Linked DNA regions of Homo sapiens: regions 1 and 2 are each linked to region 3. The links are contacts of gene promoters, found by promoter capture Hi-C in blood cells and fetal thymus (Javierre and others, 2016). All regions are on one chromosome and are shown on one strand. The core of a region is centred on a gene start or on the middle of the fragment in contact, and the rest is flanking DNA. Distances in the headings are between cores, read along the strand shown.

Region 1 (2,917 bases), core at 66-2,565, 500 kb after region 3:
GAAGTAATATTGATTCATGATTGGCTATACCTTGTTGAGCTATAGGGTAAGAGCTATGGTATCTAGCATATGGCATTGTTAGGTTAATGTATGGCCACTTGGTGTCAGTCAGTCTTGAGCCCACATAGCAAGTGGCTTCAAGAGGTGATTACTTAGCTCAAGGCAGGGAATGAGACATAATTGCTGTCACATTTCAATGCCTCTTTGGGCCTGATAATTTAAAATGGCTCACATTCTTCAGATAAAGTTTCTTTTCTTTCTCAATGAGATTTTGTTTTTTTTTGTTTTTAACTCAACAATCATGTATTGAGCCTGTCCGGGGCCAGTCTGGGCCAGTCCAGAGAGTGAGAATAGCAGTCAGTAGGTTAAGAACACAGGTTTCTAGTTCAACAGACCTTGACTCAGTCCCATCCTATCTTATTAGCGGTGGGACCTTTGCAGCTCCATGGGAGGATACTGGGGGAAGCCACTGTATTCCTCCCCTGCCTGTCTCCAGGCTTAGCAGCAGCCAGAGAGCCTGTTCTCTGAAAACGCTGCCTGGCACACTTGTTCCTGATGCTGGGATCCCTTTACAGGAAGCATAACCCTTTATTTTAGTTCAAATTAAACAAATACTCAAATGCCCTGGTGGAAGCAGTTAACACCCACAAGTTAAAACTTGCCTGAAGACAATTTCTGCAGCCAGAAATAACGTGCAGACACTTAGCTGGGGGTAGGAGCTGAACACCACAGGGAGGAGACACGAAGTTGGAAAAGAGGAACTGAGAGCCTCAGAGTCAAAATTCATTACTTCATGCTTTTTCTTTCGACCTGATCTCCCTTCCCTTTCTTATTTTTGAGAGAAAGTTTCAATTCCTGTTACAGCTGAATTCACCGGGAAGTATGGGTAATTTGTCTCCATACTTAACCTGCGCTTTAAGTGTAAAATTTTGGCCATTTATTTAAGGCCTGGAAAGAATTTACCAACTATAAGAAAATCATGTGACTTTCTTGGTGAAATGGCATCAGAAGATTTCCGGGGACCAAAGAGCACCATAACCAGGTGTAGCTGGAGTCAGGCCATTTTGTGTCAGCCAGTGCCAAAGTCCTTCCAGGTGGTGGCTGCTCTTTCTAAGGACTATTTGAACTTACAGCAATCTGATCAAGGCAGGTTTTAGAGTTTCAGGAATGCTGGTGAGCCATGTCTTGCATGTTTAACCCAAAGCTTCCCTGGAGTTGGAGACTGCACTACTTTTCATCCATCATACACTTTTTGGGCACTCGCTTGTTGGTGCTGGGCACTGTGTTAGACTCCAGAAAGACAGATAATTGTTTAGTAAAGGAAAAAAAAATGCTGTTTCTGCCCTGGAAAAATGTGCCTGACACAGAGGCCTTTTGTATTTCTGTTCTGGTCAAATAGCAACTCTCTCCTCGAGGCCATAAATGCTGAAGCTTAGACCTAGTATTTGATAGCACAACAGGGTAACTATAGTCAATAATAATTTAATTGTACATTTAAAAATAACTAAAAGAGTATAGTTGGATGGTTTGTAACACAAAGGATAAATGCTTGAGGGGATGGATACCCTACTTTCCATGATGTGATTATTATGCATTGCATGCCTGTACCCAAATATCTCATGTATCCCACAAATATATAGACCTACTATGTGCCCACAAAAATTAAAAATTAAGAATTAAAAAAAAAATGCCACAAGACAGGAGAGGTAAGTTAGCCTAGAAAGAGCTTGTTAAAAAAAAAAAAAAAATCCTTTCTTTACAGTCGAATAATATTTTAGCAATGCTGCCCTCTGCAGAGCAAAACTAGGATCGCAACTCTAGGTGGTTAAACGAACTTCCCAACACTGGTTAATTTGAAGAGAACTGGAAGATTCAATGGTCTTCCAGAGTTTTCTCACATACCCCCCTAAAATAATTGTGAATAATCATGTGCCTCCTTGCGTGTTTTTAAGTTGACATCTAAATTTGCCTTATCACCTTAATAGTTGCAAAGGATGTTCTTTCCCACACATTTTCTGAGCTTTAAATAGTTGCAGATTGAGCGTATCCAGTTTAGTTTATGAAAAACACCATCTGTATCACCTGGTGGGCAAAGCCAGCCCTCATTGTCAGACCAATCAGCTAACTTTGAATTGCTTTCTGACAGAAAAATAGTTTACTCGACTGTATTAATCACGCTGCTGATAAAGACTTATCCGAGACTGGGTAATTCTTAAAAAAAAGGAGGTTTAATGGACTCACAGTTCCATGTGGCTGGAGACGCCTCATAATCATGGTGGAAGATGAAGGAAGAGCAATGGGACGTCTTACATGGCAGCAGGCAAGAGAGAAAGAGAGCCAAACGAAAGGGGAAACCCCTATAAAAGCATCAAATGTTTGATGAAAAGACTTTGAAATTCATTGTTGAAAAGACTTATTCTGTTCAACATTGTTGAAAAGTTGTTTGAAAAGACTTATTCATTACCATGAGAACAGTATGTGGGAAACTGCCCCCATGACTCAATGATTTCCCACTGGCACCCTCCCACAACACGTGGGAATTATGGAAGCTGCAATTCAAGATGAGATTTGGGTGGAGACACAGCCAAACCATATCATTGACTGACTTAAATTCAACAGAACTGTGCTTTGGAGGACATCGTTGCGCTGCTGACTTCTAACACTGAGGTAGGTGACTAGATAGAGCTGGCGCAGGTGACCCAGGCATTGCTCCTTTAGGGGTGCCTTCTGAGAAAGCAAAAGGAGTTTTACTTTCATGGGACTCTCCTGTCTTAGCTCTAAATTTTCTTATTGTCCCATTGTTTGGTGCAAGTTCTTTTTTTTTTTTTGAGATGGAGTTTCGCTTTTGTTGCCCAGGCTGGAGTGCAATGACATGATGTTGGCTCACCGCAACCTCCGCCTCCCAGGTTCAAGTGAT
Region 2 (2,719 bases), core at 171-2,670, 270 kb after region 3:
ATACTACGCCAAAGGCTTTATAAATATAATTTCATTTAATTGTTACAAAATGGGGTACATATTCTTATTTTGATTTTACAAAGACAGTTAAGGAACTGAAACATGAAATACAAGGTTAAAAATAATTGAATAAATAAATTGATAAAAGGAATGAATGAATAGAGCAAGGAAAGAATAAGCGAATAAGAACGTGGGCTTGTTTTTTTCAAACAAATTATATGTTATGGACTCTAGATCTCTTAACTTAGCTTCAGTGACATTGGATTATTGAAAAATGAAACTATTTTGAGGAATTGACTGACCCCTAAAGTTTCCACAATAACTTATTTAATTTTTTATCTTTCTAATACTTTTTTGCCTTATAATATAAAATTTGAATGTTTGTTATTAGTGTGAAATGAAATCCTTTCAAATATATGCCATCAGAAGGATGTGTTACAAATATACAGTATTACAAACATTTATTTTGTATGCTGAATAAGAAAAAATCAGTTATAATACAGTTTTAACATAGTATCCAGTGTGTGAATTATTTAATGAAATATTTGATCTTTATTTTTTGTTCCCAGGGAGGTTATATTCAAAAGAAAAAGGAACTGTGGGGAATCTGTATCTTTATTGCAGCAGTTGACCTAGATGAGATGTCGTTCACTTTTACTGAGCTACAGAAAAACATAGAAATCAGGTAAAGTTTCTTGTATAAATATAAGCCTCTGCCATAAAAGGAAACGAATTCTGGATTTTCCTCTCAATAGACTTTTGTGAATTAGTGAGAAATGCTAAAATAAAGTAAAACAAAAAGAACTTGGACCAAATAGTGAACTGCCATTCTCTCATGGAGCCGTTATGAAAGTGTATTTATGCTGTATTTCTTTAAGAGGTAGCAGTTTGTGTCCTGGAAAAATTTTCATTGTGTCTCTCACTATTCATGTGTAAGCTTTCTTAATTGTGGCTGTTAATAAAGTGAACAGAAAAGCAAGGATTTGTAAATAGGCTTGTTTTATATTAAAACCTTTATATAAGTAGTTTGAGTTTATCTTAAAGGTATTTAGGTAAGATTTATTAAAGCCTAAGATTGTTTTAACTAGAGGATATTATAACTAAATGCTTTTTTTCAGATTATATATTGATTTGAACATGCTACAATACTTGAACCAGTTAATTACTTAATAGGTGTTTGTTGTTGAGTTTATAAGCCTCATAAGAAGAGTTTATTAATGTGTTTTCAATAATGTATGAACTTTATCTTCAGAAAGTATCCAGGACTTCCAGTCATTTTCTTTGCAACATATTTACAAAAATGCAACAGTATGTATTTTTACCAAATAGGTAATTATGTTTCTCCTTGAACAAAGACATCTAGAATTAAACATAATTGATATTTTATTTAAACGAGATAGATTAAATTGTTGCATTTTTGAAATACTTTTTTTGCTATATCTAAATAAAATGTGGAAACAAAGGCCTTGTATATTTGTAAATATACAAAATAATAGAAATGACATAAATAGTTCATAGAGTCAATACCTGCAACACCACAGGCACTCACTGCTTCTCTCCCTTCCTTGTTTTCTTCCCTTAAGTTTCCCCTAGAAAAAAGGCTTTGTTGTAACAATTCAGTTTTCATGGTAATCTCAGGACAGGTATTGCCATATACCTCAAAAAAACTGGAACTGAGAGTAGTTCTTTAATAAATGCTATTCTGAGGCTGATTTCTTTTTCTTTGGATATATCTGCACTTTTGTTCCTTTCTCTTTTCTCTTCTAATCAACATTCTGATCTTCTATTCTTTGTCATTTCTACTCTTTCTTTATTTGCTTTTTCACATAGCTTGTCATGGCTCCCCCATTCCTTTCTGTATCATAGGAACTTTAATAACCTTTTGGTTCCCCTGCTGATTAGCTGAAGCTTTTATTTCCCCAGTGTTTGATTGGTCCAGCCCATTTTTTTGAGTGAGGGCTATAACTCATTGGTTGCTGGACAGCCTATGGATGGGTCAGGTGACTATCTTTTGTTTCAGTTAGCTGCTTTGGTATAATTCCTTATACAAAATTCATGATTAGAAATTAGCATGTGAGATGTAGTTGATGATTGCTATCTTTAATATCCTATTGGAAAATGTATATATTGATGTTTCAAATACGTTAATTTTTATGGAAAAGAGTAACGAAGAGTGATTTAAAGTTATTATTTAAACTGCTTAAATTATTTAAATCAACTTTCCTTTTCCAAAAATAATTCAATTCTAAAATCATTGGTGGGGCAAATAAAGTATGCATTTTGGTGTGTATCTCTGACAGGAGGGTGCCACAGGGCCCAGAGCAGGATGTTAGAGTCAAAGTAGGGTGAGGAGGGCATCCTTTGTGTGGGGGCAACCTGATGGGGCTGCTTTGTGTGCAGTGTCAGAGACTAAGCAGGGTGTGCAGGCAGCCGGTGCACAAGTGAGGTGAGGAGGGCAGCCTGCTGTGGGGAGTCAGAACCCTTCCACAGTGAGGAAGTGTCTATGCTAAGGGGTGGGGTAAGTCCAGAACTGGGAGTCAGTTCTGAGAAGAACAGAAAAGTGTCCACACGGGGGAGGGGGTGGCTTTGGAGATAGAAAATGGTTACTTACAGGGGGATTGATTAAATGAGTAAGTAAACTGAGGATGAATGGGTTCCAGGTTTCCCACTGTCAATGAAGAGTTACAAATATAGAAAGGGAAACACTAAAATGAAGCAT
Region 3 (2,823 bases), core at 37-2,536:
GACATTCAAACATTGTATGTCCTTAATTCTAGATGGTGAAAATATAAGATTAATCTCCTATTTTCCAATTTTTCTAGAGATCGAAAATAATCAAAAGGAAAAAATGATGGAAAAATGGAATTCTCAGTTCATTTGAAGAATACAGATTAGCAATTAAAAAATACAGCAGTATCTCAGGAAATAAACATTATTCTCATTTTACAAAAAAGTGTATGTGAACTTTAAAAAAATCTACACTACAATATGAATTGATATTATCTCTGGGTAGAATGCTAACAATTTTATTTTCTCCTTTACTGTATTCACTAAATGTTTCACATTAAATGTTGTATTACCTTTGAAATCAGAAGATACATTGTCTAAAACTGATACATCAAGAAATAGTTGTATAAGCATATTACCTAAACACAGAGGTTACCAACAGAAATTAAAAGTGGTTAAAAATGACTCCTGGGGAACTGTAAGAAGAGGAAGGTGAAGGGAAGAAATGGTTGCTTTCCATTCTAAATCTTCACACAATCTATTCTTAAAATCAGACAAGGCTGTGGTAAATTTTTTCAATTATTAAAAAAAATTATTTCTTCTAATAGGAATAGGCCTTTGAGAACCCTATTAATTGTAATAGGTTTCAATTCAGTTAGTCACTCAAGTATTATAAAATGCAACTGGATTTACAGAAATAATTTCCTACCTACACTGACAGTATATTTAAACTAAAAAAAAAGCATACAATGTACAAACAAATTTATTTACAAAAATTACAATTACAAACTGTACAAATTGAGACAATTTCCCATGCCTCCAACAGAAGCCAAGAGCCTTTACTGTCAAATGGCAGTTTTTGTTACTTTTAAATGACACACAAAAAGAAATATGATGCCTATTCAGTCATCCACTGCCAGTTTAAAAATGCTTTTCTAAATAATTCCAAGAAGCCTATTAGTGATATGTATATGGATAATTTCCCTCAACTCTATTTCTAGAATGGCTATGTACAAATCCAGCAAAACTGGAACAGAACAGGGTAAGAAAGCACATAGCAACTGCTTTTTCAACAGTAAATTTTGACTATTCCCCTAAATATCTACCTAGTGGCTTAAAACTAAAACTATGGTCTTTGGCTTTAAAAAGAAAGTCAAAAAATTTTGACTTTTAATGACTGCACAATTCTACCAAAGCCAGTGTTTACCTGGGTATTTTTTGTCACCTGTAGTTTACATTTCCCTGCTACTGTTAAAGAAACAGAATTCTACAGTATTCAATTCTGTATATTGTCTTTTAAGGTTTTTCAATCAGACTCACTACTACTGCTTGAGGAGTCCGTTGACATAATCTCTACATCATCTTCATTTTCTTTATTATGCCCAGGAGGTTCCAACAAAAAGTCACTACTATGATTTGGTGGTAACATATTCATCGACATGTCATTTGACTGCCATGGATACTGTGGAGCAAGGACATCTGGAGAAAAAAAGAAGCATAGATAAGAACAGCTCTATCTGTAATTAATCTAGTTCTTACTTTTCCCTTTATGCAACAATTTGAAGTATTTTTTTTAATTTTACTTTTTTCTCTTCTTTTTTTGACACAGGGTCTCATTCTGTCACCCAGGCTTGAGTGCAGTGGCACGAATACATCACTGAAGCCCTGACCTAGGCTCAAGCAATCCTCCTGCCTCAGCCTCCTGAGTAACTGGGTTACAGGTATGTGCCACCATGCTTGAGTACTTTTTAAAGTTTTTGTAGAGATGAGGTCTCACTATGTTAACCAGGCTGGTCTCCAACTCCTGGGCTCAAGCTATCCTGCTACCTCAGCCTCCCAAAGTGTTGGGATTACAGGCATAAGCTATTGTGCCAATTTTTTTAAGACTAGGAAAAAAATACACATTTAGCCAAATTAATAAAAATCAAATTTATCAAGGAAAAGTTGATATTTTAGCAACTGGGGACTTTTTTAAAAAAATCATACTACTCTGTAAGAAACTATTTAGTCAGTTGACATAATTTTTCTTTTGTAAGACATTTGTAATTACAAATTTTTCCTGTATCTATGTATCTATTATATGCATATATAATACATACTTATGTATACTAGGTTATGTAGATTATTCTACATATTATAAACAAGTAATAGGTACTTTAGTATTATAATAGATTTGAATGATTTCTTGATAGAGGAACTGCTATTGTAAGTGACTCTCATCAAAGAGAGGTTGATTAGCAATGTATGCATATGAAATACCTTAAAAAAGGGCCCAAGTTACATTTAAAGTCTGTATTTCTGAAGCAAAGGGACAGAGCACATAAACAGGTATAGTTCAAGACTCAAATAAAGAAGGCAGATTTTTAAAGGGTCAAAAGAAAGAGTTATGGTATTAACTAGAAAGGTATGCCAGTTAGCCTCAAATCTACCCTTCTCTCTGGCCCCTGAAACCATTTCTCCTTTGCCAGCTGCCACAATTAAGTTTTGTCAGTAGAGGGCACAGGTGGGACTCCACTAGCAAACAAGTTTCACTTCCTGGATCAGGTGGTTTTGTCTCCTTTACTGCTGTGATGCCTGGTTGGTGTGCAGGACATTAAGTGGTGTTCACCACAGCAACTTTCGGTGGCGCCTCTAAAGGTGGTTTCCTAGCAGGTTTCACCAGAATCCCAAAGGGCAGCTTCCCAGCAAGTCTCCCTGGAACCCCAGTGGGTAATTTCCTGCTTGCCAGCTCTGGCCTCTGATGCCTCATCTAACTTCTCTGCCATGGAGTGGGCCACATTACACTGCACCCTCTCCAATGACAGCACCATGATATGAGAGTATCGGCCTTGGGATGGAGCT

What was found. Contacts are between HindIII fragments. The CHiCAGO score rates a contact against its expected background, and 5 or more counts as called.
Region 1: a contact is called between a fragment that was not itself captured here and the fragment with the promoter of MED4-AS1 in region 3, in 3 of 17 cell types (naive B cells, total CD8 T cells and total B cells). The highest score is 6.8, in naive B cells.
Region 2: a fragment that was not itself captured here is called in contact with the fragment with the promoter of MED4-AS1 in region 3 in 1 of 17 cell types (naive B cells); the score reaches 5.4 in naive B cells.

What each region holds. Positions count from the first base shown.
Region 1 is chr13:48,578,600-48,581,516 of GRCh38, forward strand. All of the region lies in intron 1 of LINC01077 (long intergenic non-protein coding RNA 1077), which reads right to left. LINC00462 (long intergenic non-protein coding RNA 462) reads right to left here and starts at 2,302. Exons shown (of 3, transcript NR_051983.1): 1 at 2,242-2,302. LOC105370202 (a long non-coding RNA gene) reads left to right here and starts at 2,592. Exons shown (of 3, transcript XR_941958.4): 1 at 2,592-2,667. RefSeq lists enhancers at 885-954, 975-1,024. The HindIII fragment of the contact is 227 bases long and covers 1,203-1,429 here.
Region 2 is chr13:48,342,030-48,344,748 of GRCh38, forward strand. It overlaps RB1 (RB transcriptional corepressor 1), which reads left to right. Exons shown (of 27, transcript NM_000321.3): 3 at 570-685. Among named protein-coding and RNA genes, the nearest start is that of RB1, 40 kb to the left of the region's middle. The HindIII fragment of the contact is 971 bases long and covers 936-1,906 here.
Region 3 is chr13:48,075,851-48,078,673 of GRCh38, forward strand. MED4-AS1 (MED4 antisense RNA 1) reads left to right here and starts at 1,287. Exons shown (of 3, transcript NR_046511.1): 1 at 1,287-1,501; 2 at 1,592-1,703. MED4 (mediator complex subunit 4) reads right to left here. Exons shown (of 7, transcript NM_014166.4): 7 at 1-1,461. The coding sequence ends at 1,289. The HindIII fragment of the contact is 10,244 bases long and covers 1-2,823 here.